Regions from separate parts of the Homo sapiens genome. Here regions 1 and 3 are each linked to region 2. The links are contacts of gene promoters, found by promoter capture Hi-C in blood cells and fetal thymus (Javierre and others, 2016). All regions are on one chromosome and are shown on one strand. The core of a region is centred on a gene start or on the middle of the fragment in contact, and the rest is flanking DNA. Distances in the headings are between cores, read along the strand shown. Region 1 has its middle 3.6 kb from the start of SMIM26. Region 2 holds the start of NXT1 (nuclear transport factor 2 like export factor 1). Region 3 holds the start of SEC23B (SEC23 homolog B, COPII component).

Region 1 (2,700 bases), core at 56-2,555, 4.8 Mb after region 2:
CTTATCAACAAACTATGTTTGCATAGTTAAAACAGGGTAAATATTAATTATTGATTCATCAAAAATATGCAATAGTTTTATTGGTTAGTCAGTTGGAAAGGAGGATCAAATCCTCATTAATAAATCCCATACATGATTGATAAATTAAAGATATTAGTAAAAGCTTATTATTTAGAAATGTGGACGTAAATACCAAAAAAAAAAAAAAAAAAACCTAATAGTTGAAAGCAAGGAGGGATAAAGCAGGAACTGTTTTTTTGGTTACAAACTTTTGATCATTATTTAATTTTTTAATGCATTTGTTGCTTTGTTAAAAATATAAAAATTAATTTCAAAAAAGTCATGCTGGCTAATACTGTAGAAACCAATTGGAGGGGACTCCAAGTAGAGACAAAGAGAGTAGGAAGTTGAGGCTACATAAGCAAAGAGGATGGAGGATTTAAGTAAGGTAGTGGTAAAGGGAATGGGAAGGTGGGAATGGAGTGGAATATTTGCAGTAGAAATGATGGGACCTGGTGGCTGGAGGAAGGAGAAGGAACAAGAAGAGGGAGAAGTCTAGAATGATAGGTTCCTAATTTGAGGAACTGAGTACTCTCTGAGAAAGAGAACGGAAGGAAGAGCAGCCTTGTGGGTGATGACAGCAATTTAAGTTATGGACAAAGCTGAGGTGGCTAGATATCCAAGTGGCAATGCTAGATGGACATGGATCTTGAGTTCAGGAGAACGCTGGGCTGAAATAAGAGAATAAATTAGATCTAGCAAAGAAACCCAGCCAAGTCCCAAGGAAAGCTAACCCAAATGTCCCCTTAAGCCCCACAAGTGTATGAATCCTGGGTAGACTGCCAGGTGAGAGTAGAAGTTCAGCTGTTTATCCTCGGTGTGCTCTATTAACAACTCTCACCTGCCAAGTGCCACAGCCCCTCAGCCCTTGCCCTTTGTTTCTCTGGAAGCCCTCATGTTAGGAAATGTCTTCCAAAACGTTCATGCTACTGTTCCCATTTCTCCCATACTTCTGATTCACTTGCTTCTCACCTTCCCCATCTACTGTCGTACACTGCTTCTCATTCATCAGTTTGATGCCAACCAAGATGGTCCACTGGAATACACAGCCAATTGGCACGAATCCATGCTTGACCTGATATCCCTTGGGAAGCTGAGTCTCTGCTACCAGCATCTGGAGCTGTTACTTGTGATTTTGGAATCCTTGTCACTAAGGCTGACTGCACCACAGCACTGCTCAGGCCACCCATAATGGTGGAACTGACACCAATGAGAAATCAAGATGAGGGTCTGAAGGTCATAGTACTGTAGAGGAACCCTGAAATGCCCAATTCCTGTCCTACCACACATCACATCTCTACTCACAGGGTCCCAACAGCTATGAACAGGAAAACACTACCTAAATGAGAAACAAATGCCACTTTATTCATAACTGAGGCAGTACTCTATAATCCATAGGCAGGGATCTGATAAAAACTGAACTGAGTCTCTCGCAAGGGTGGAAGCCAAAGACCAGGTTGAGGAGAGGCTGGTCAGACTTTGGCACTGCACATGGGAGGTAGTATCTTCTTGGGATATTTGTATTACTCCAGAAAGGTGAGAAAAGCAGCTGGTGTGCAATAAGAAAAGCAAGGCCAAGAGCCCAGGCAGGCTCAACAAGTGGCTGCCTGCATTCTGGTCCCAGTGTCAGGCCTTCTGAAGACAACATACTGCTTTTTTTTTTTTTTTTTGAGATGGAATCTCGCTGTCAACAGGCTGGAGTGCAGTGGTGCGATCTCAGCTCACTGCAACCTCCGCCTCCCAGATTCAAGCGATTCTCCTGCCTCAGCCTCCCAAGTAGCTGGGACTACAGGTGCGCGGTGCCATGCCCAGCTAATTTTTGTATTTTTAATAGAGACAGGGTTTCACCATGCTGGCCAAGACGGTCTCGATCTCTTGACCTTGTGATCCGCCCCTCGGCCTCCCAAAGTGCAGGGAGTACAGGCGTGAGCCACCGCTCCTGGCCCATACTCTCTGCTTTAATTCTGAGCTACCAATACACGTTTTTTATAAACACCCACTTTTGATTTAAGCTCACTTGTGTTTGTTGCCTGCAACCAAGAGACCACTGAGGAAACTGGTTCAGCATCAATCATGTCGTCCTGACTGCATTCCCAGCATTAGAATAGCACTGGCCACAGTTGGTGGGTAATCCACACTTGCTGAAGGAATGAGGGGTATGTGCACTGGTCCTAAAGAATAGGTCCAGTCTGTTTAATTCAGAAGTTACAATCAAATTTATATCATACTTACCCAGTACGCAGTAGTACCCAAAGGGCTACTGTGAATCCCAAAGTGAATATGGAGATTTGCTGAAACTAACCTTAAAGCGACCACTAAAGCTGTGCCTAATAGCAACATGAAAGAAATATAAATCTACATTAACTAGTTTCAGGAAATCAAGCTTATGGAAGCTCTATGTGAAATTTCACAGCAATCTTTCACTCATGCAAATACAGAGGAACACCTCTTGAAAATGCAGATAGTAGGCCGGGGACCGTGGCTCACACCTGTAATCCCAGCACTTTGGGAGGCTGAGGCAGGCGGATCACAAGGTCAGGAGATGGAGACCATCCTGGCTAACACGGTGAAACCCTGTCTCCACTGAAAACACAAAAAATTAGCCAGACATGGTGGCAGGCGCCTTTAGTCCCAGCTACT
Region 2 (2,700 bases), core at 164-2,663:
TACTGTTTGATATAACCTATGCGCAGCATCCTCCTATATACCTTCATCATCTGTAGGTAACTTATAATACCTAATACAATGTAGATGGGATGTAAATAGTTGTTATACTGTATAGTTTAGGAAATAATGACAAGAAAAAAAAAGCCTCTACATGTTCAGTACAAACGCATTTTTCTTTTTCTGAAGAATATTTTTGATTTGAGGTTGGTTGAATCCACCCCACGCGGAACCCACGACTAAGAAGCGCTGTGTTTGCTAAGGGCTTCACACAAATTACCTCATTTAAATGTTACCACAAATGGATGAAAAAGGTATTACTATAACAATTTTACAAATGAGAAAAGGGAAACCTAGGGCTGGATCAAAGTAACGACGGTTAAGTACACTCCTGATCTATCGTTTACAAGACTAGACTGAGGGCTGAAATTTTGTCAATACAACGCTGTCCTTGTACTCGCGTAAGCAAGTCTCCATGAGCACAACTCCAGGACTGCTAGAGTGGGAATTTTCTCCCAGGGACCCCATTTCTCTTTGGCTGGAATTCCCGATCTCCACCTCACTCCTCCTCCCTCCATGGCACCAGTCCCCCCATCATCTCAGAAATGCCCCTCTTCTCCGCCCCTGGCTGTCTTTCCAAACACAATCTAACAACTGGCCACGCCCCCACACACCATAGAAGGACCATCTCCACTTACGGTTTTCAGCTACCTATGAGGTCGTCAGTCCCGCTGTCTGTGTCAAATCAGAAAAAGAACCTGACCGTGAGGACTAGAGTAAGAGGCTGTGAAGACTGCCGCCTCCTCGCACGACCCACACCGTCGAGTGTCCGGAGATGGACGGGAAAAGCTACCACAGTGGCATGGCCTTATTTCCTGTGAGTCGCCTTTAATTCAAACCTAGACAGACGCACGCCCTGCCCGGCCCTCCTCAGACCCGAGAGCTGCGCTGTGAGGGGACGCGCCTCCCCTCGTTGATGAGAATTCGCTGCCACGCTTTTTGCACAGGCGAGAGCCTCACCGCGGCGGCAACTCTACCACGTGGACAAAGGCACAGCCGTGTCTCATTCTCGACAATGGAGGAGGGCGTGGGGTATGCACTAGGGGCTGTCTCGGGGGTCAGACCGCCGGGGGACGGCAACGTACCTGCGCGGCGACGTCCAGGGTCAGCGCGGGCCGCGGCCCCCACGGTCGGGACGCCCCCCGCGTGGGACGCAGTTCCACTGAGGGGCCGGCCGCGGAGGTCACAAGGTGGGCCCACCGAAGCCTCTGGTAGGGGCACGGGAAGAGCCGCCTTTCTCTCCTCCTCCTCCTTCTTGGAGGCTTACTCTGGGTCACCGGGGCCCCAGAGCCGGGGGACTTTCCGGCGCAGTTCCGCGGCTTCCCGCGCGCGGCCAGCCGGTCTCCACGCAGACGCGAGCGCCCCGGCGCCGCCCTCTCCCGCATTCCCGTGACGGGCAGCGAAGTCAGCCAGTGGGACTGCGGGCCGGAAGGCTAACTCCGCCCATGTGTGGCTTATAAGAGGCGGTAGCTTCCGGGAGTGTCACTTTCCCAGAAATCCCGGCAAATCCGCCCTAGAGTTTTCGTTGGTCCAACCGGGCCACAGACTCCGGCCCGTCTGGTTAGGTGGGATGCCTGATTGGGCCAAACCTCTTAGGTCCCGCACCTAGAGCGGGGAGTAGCGTCTGCTTTTTTTTCCGCTGAGCGGAGGCCGCTAGGCTGGAGAGGGAGGGGAAGGTGTGTGGGGTCGGGTGAGATGCTTTCCCCTCGTCCCGCATGCGCCTGTATTGGAGTGATTTCAGTTAAAAGTCTCGTGAAACGTCACCAGTGATGTAGTCACGGCCAGCAGCAGCTGCCTGACCCCGCCGAGGCCTTCCGTCTGGCAACATGTGGGGCGCCGCAATGCTTGAGGCCACGGCGAGGGCAACGCCGGCCGCGCCCCGTGGAAACCGCGTGGCGGAGTGCTTGAGCCGATCGCGCTCTTTAGGAGTTAGGCCACTTAGAGGCGACATCTTGGTGGACACGGAGGAAGCCAGTTTTAGTCAGATGGGAAAAGTAGCTAAAAGTGGGAGGAGACTGGGGCGAGGGTGGGACGTGGGGGAGGCGGGGGCGTGACGGCGGCTCTCCACTGCCCTGAGGCTTGAGGGGCCCCGGGAAACCCGGGCCCGGCTGGGGTTGGGACTCTGTTCTTCCGCGTTCATAGCTACGATTCAGCTGTTCTGGAATGAGAACTGGATTTTTACTGAACTTTACGAACAGGCTCAACAGGATGTAACCATTCAGTGTGGAGGCATGAGAAACTATAGCTTGTAAATTAAAAGAAAAACCTCATTTCTTTAGACAACATTTTCAGCTCCATCTGCTGGTCTGAGGCTGAATAATTAATTGAAAAGCCAGGAGAGAAATGGGGCTAGATGAAGTGAGGTAGTTTAACCTGTGCTTTCTTGGCGTCCCGTCGGCTCCCTTTGCTTGCATTCCTAAGAGAATCTTGGTCTCAGATTTCAGGACAAGTGGAAAACAGTTGGGCTATTTAGTATAGGCCACCCCTTCCCCCCCGCACCCTCTCCCCCCACACACTTCAGTTAAGTAGGTGGAAAGTTTGGATTATTAAAAAGACACGTTGGAGGCTGAGCAGAGAGTGTGAAAGAGCATTTTCGGGGCTTTGTGAACTAACATGGCCTTTTGAACCCCAAGGCAGTGATAC
Region 3 (2,843 bases), core at 259-2,758, 4.8 Mb after region 2:
AAGAAAAGTAGTAAAAAGGCAAATTAAAGAGTCTATCAAATTAAAGTGGCCTCTCGCGCCCACTTCCTGAATATGGATAACAACTGTCTGTTATTTTGGGAAGTACCATACTGTAAATAATTTTGATTAAGGCAATAATATTGCATGGCTAGAAAAGCAAATGAATTACTCTACTACATAAAGCCCAGAACACAAGAATTCCAATGTTTGCTCCAACTGAAACTCTAAGAAATCTGTTTATTTCTGGCAACGGCAAGAACCTGAAGCACTGTGTGCACAGGAAGCACTCTGGAGCTTCATGGGAAGCAAAGGGATAACTAAAGTCGGAATGAAAGCAAGTTCTATCACAACTCTCAGCAAGTATGTCAGCAGATTTCATTAAATAACCGTCTCTCTCTCAAAACGTTCTTTATTAAAAGGCACTGGCGGCCGGGCGCGGTGGCTCACGCCTGTAATCCCAGCACTTTGGGCGACCGAGGCCGGTGGATGACCTGAGGTCAGGAATTCAAGACCAGCCTGGCCAACATGGCAAAACCCCGTCTCTACTAAAAATACAAAAATTAGCTGGGCGTGGTGGCAGGTGCCTGTAATCCCAGCTACTCGGGAGGCTGCGGCAGGGAGGACTGCTTGACCTTGGGAGGCATTGGTTGCAGTGAGCCGAGATCACGCCACTGCACTCCAGCCTGGGCGACAGAGCGAGACTCCATCTCAAAAAAAAAAAAAAAAAAAAAGAAGCTACTGCCTCCATCTAATGGTTTCCAAGCATGTACAGCCTAAGACCTGCTCCCTCCTTTTCCTACTGCCTGTTTCCCTCACCCTTCTAGGGTCTGGATTCTTAGCAGTGGACACATAATCCAAGGGGACTATAGAAGGTCCACTAATCATCTGAAGTTATGCGCATGAGGGAATATGCCGTTTTTCTAGGGAGATGGGTCCATAGCTTTTACCAAAGTATCGGGGAAGGTATCTGAAGAGGTAAATAACTGAAAGTATGAATTAGTGAATGAATGAAAGGCCTGGAAAGATAACAGGAGAATATGCCAAAAAATCTGAACCACCCTTATCGCGCCAACTCGTAACTTCTCAGGACACAGTGACCATGTGTATGTAAGAATAAGTGAGGTTTAATCCTTGAAGGGAGTCCAAGGACCTGGGTTCCAGTTCCAGCTGTCATGAAGCAAAAGTCGTTTCACTTGTCTGAGTCTTGAGTTTCTCAACTATAAAACGGGACTTGGGTCCTTCCAGGTGTGCGCACTCCGCAATTCTGGGGAAACTGGAGCCAGAAATCGGTCCCGGCCTGGTGCGGGACGACATCCGCAGGGGACTCCCGGATCATCCATTCCCCCGCTACCCTAAACTGTCAAGAAAAGGCCTCCTCCCAGAAGCCGCTCACCTCGCCCCCGGCAGAAACTCATACCCGTGCCCTCGGCCCTCCGTCACCTATGCGCCCCGCTCACCTGGCCGGAGCCGCTCACCTAGCTAGAGCCGTCCTCACCCACAGCTGCAACAAGCAGGCTCCGGCTCCCACCGCCAAGTCCAGCTCAGCTCTCAACCGATTGGCCAGCGCCCCAGCGCGTCATGCCACGGCGCTGTCCACTGGCCAATCAAAGAGCGCTTCTCCGACGGACTGGAGGAAGCGAGAGACTCAGAGAAGCTCTGCCACCATCTTGGAACAGGGCAAGACAGGTGTATGTCGCACTTCAAAACGAGAGTTCCTCGGAACACGTTTCCCCACCCCTAAACGTTTCTGTTTCAGAAAACCCCGGCGCCTGCCGCACCGTTGCCTAAGCGCAGCCAGCGCTCCTCAGAGGTTCGCCCTGATACAATATGACATCCGCTCGTCTCAGTGGGAAGTCCCGCTGATCGCCTTAGCTACCGGAAAGCGAGAACGATGACGTATGCTCGCGGAACAGGGAGCTGCACTGGTTGGAAGAAACTAAGGCTGCCGGAAGAAGGCATTAGCATGCGGAAGGGGCGGGGCGGGTGGTGAGCGCGGCGGCGCTTACGCACTTGCTGGTTTGGGAGTCGGTCTCTGTGGTTAAGTTTGAAGTACAGAGGTGTGGTGGTGCTTCACGTTACAAGCTCTCCTACCGTCGCTTGCTGTAATGTCTTGGCGCTCTCAGCGGAGGCTGGCACTAGCGCACAGTCCCTGTCATCCTTCTACATGGAGATAAATAATTGAGAACTGTAATATTCAACCATTTTAGGAGAGTAAGCTTAGAAATACATGGAACATAACTTTCTTTTAAAAAATAATTCCAACGTTTAGATTTAGGGGGTACACTGCGTATTTGTTACCTGGCTATGAGGTTTCGAATTCGAATGAGCTGGTCACCCAGATACTGAGCATAGTACCCAAGTTTTTCAGCCCCTCCCTGCCTCCCTCCCCACTCTAGTAGTCCCCAGCGTCTATTAATGTCACCTTTGTGTCCATGTGTGCCCAATGCTTAGCTCCCACTTTCAAGTGAGAACATGTATTTGGTTTTCTGCTTCTGCGTTAATTCTTTTAGGATCATGGCCTCCAGATGCATCCATGTTGCTGCAAAAGGCGCGATAGAACACAACTGTATAAAGCCACCACAACCATTTTTACACACGCTGACAAGTGGCAAACATGAACACATCATTACTGTGACTCAGAGTTGTAGTCTCTGTAGCATATAAAAATAAGCAAAACGATGTAAACATAAAATTATGCAAGAACATATCTAGGCATCCAAGAAGTATCCATTAATTAGCTCAATTTAATACTAAGTTTTAAGTTATCTACAGATCATAGAAATTATTAATAGTTTAAGGCACAAAGAAACAATTACTGTTAAATGTGAGAATGATTCAGTTTT

The links. The method cuts DNA at HindIII sites, captures the fragments that hold promoters and counts their contacts. A CHiCAGO score of 5 or more calls a contact.
Region 1: a fragment that was not itself captured here is called in contact with the fragment with the promoter of NXT1 in region 2 in 1 of 17 cell types (total CD4 T cells); the score reaches 6.1 in total CD4 T cells.
Region 3: the fragment with the promoter of SEC23B here is called in contact with the fragment with the promoter of NXT1 in region 2 in 1 of 17 cell types (total CD4 T cells); the score reaches 5.8 in total CD4 T cells.

Annotation. Positions count from the first base shown.
Region 1 is chr20:18,569,701-18,572,400 of GRCh38, reverse strand. No RefSeq gene overlaps it. Among named protein-coding and RNA genes, the nearest start is that of SMIM26, 3.6 kb to the right of the region's middle. The HindIII fragment of the contact is 2,280 bases long and covers 166-2,445 here.
Region 2 is chr20:23,349,504-23,352,203 of GRCh38, reverse strand. It overlaps NXT1 (nuclear transport factor 2 like export factor 1), which reads right to left and starts at 1,413. Exons shown (of 2, transcript NM_013248.3): 1 at 1,143-1,413. NXT1-AS1 (NXT1 antisense RNA 1) reads left to right here and starts at 737. Exons shown (of 3, transcript XR_937384.2): 1 at 737-874. RefSeq lists enhancers at 562-611, 668-1,539, 1,478-1,772, 1,692-1,831, 1,540-2,412 and silencers at 1,102-1,371, 1,992-2,121. The HindIII fragment of the contact is 12,471 bases long and covers 1-2,700 here.
Region 3 is chr20:18,506,605-18,509,447 of GRCh38, reverse strand. It overlaps SEC23B (SEC23 homolog B, COPII component), which reads right to left and starts at 1,508. Exons shown (of 20, transcript NM_006363.6): 1 at 1,476-1,508. RefSeq lists enhancers at 1,238-1,287, 1,638-1,967. The HindIII fragment of the contact is 4,172 bases long and covers 1-2,218 here.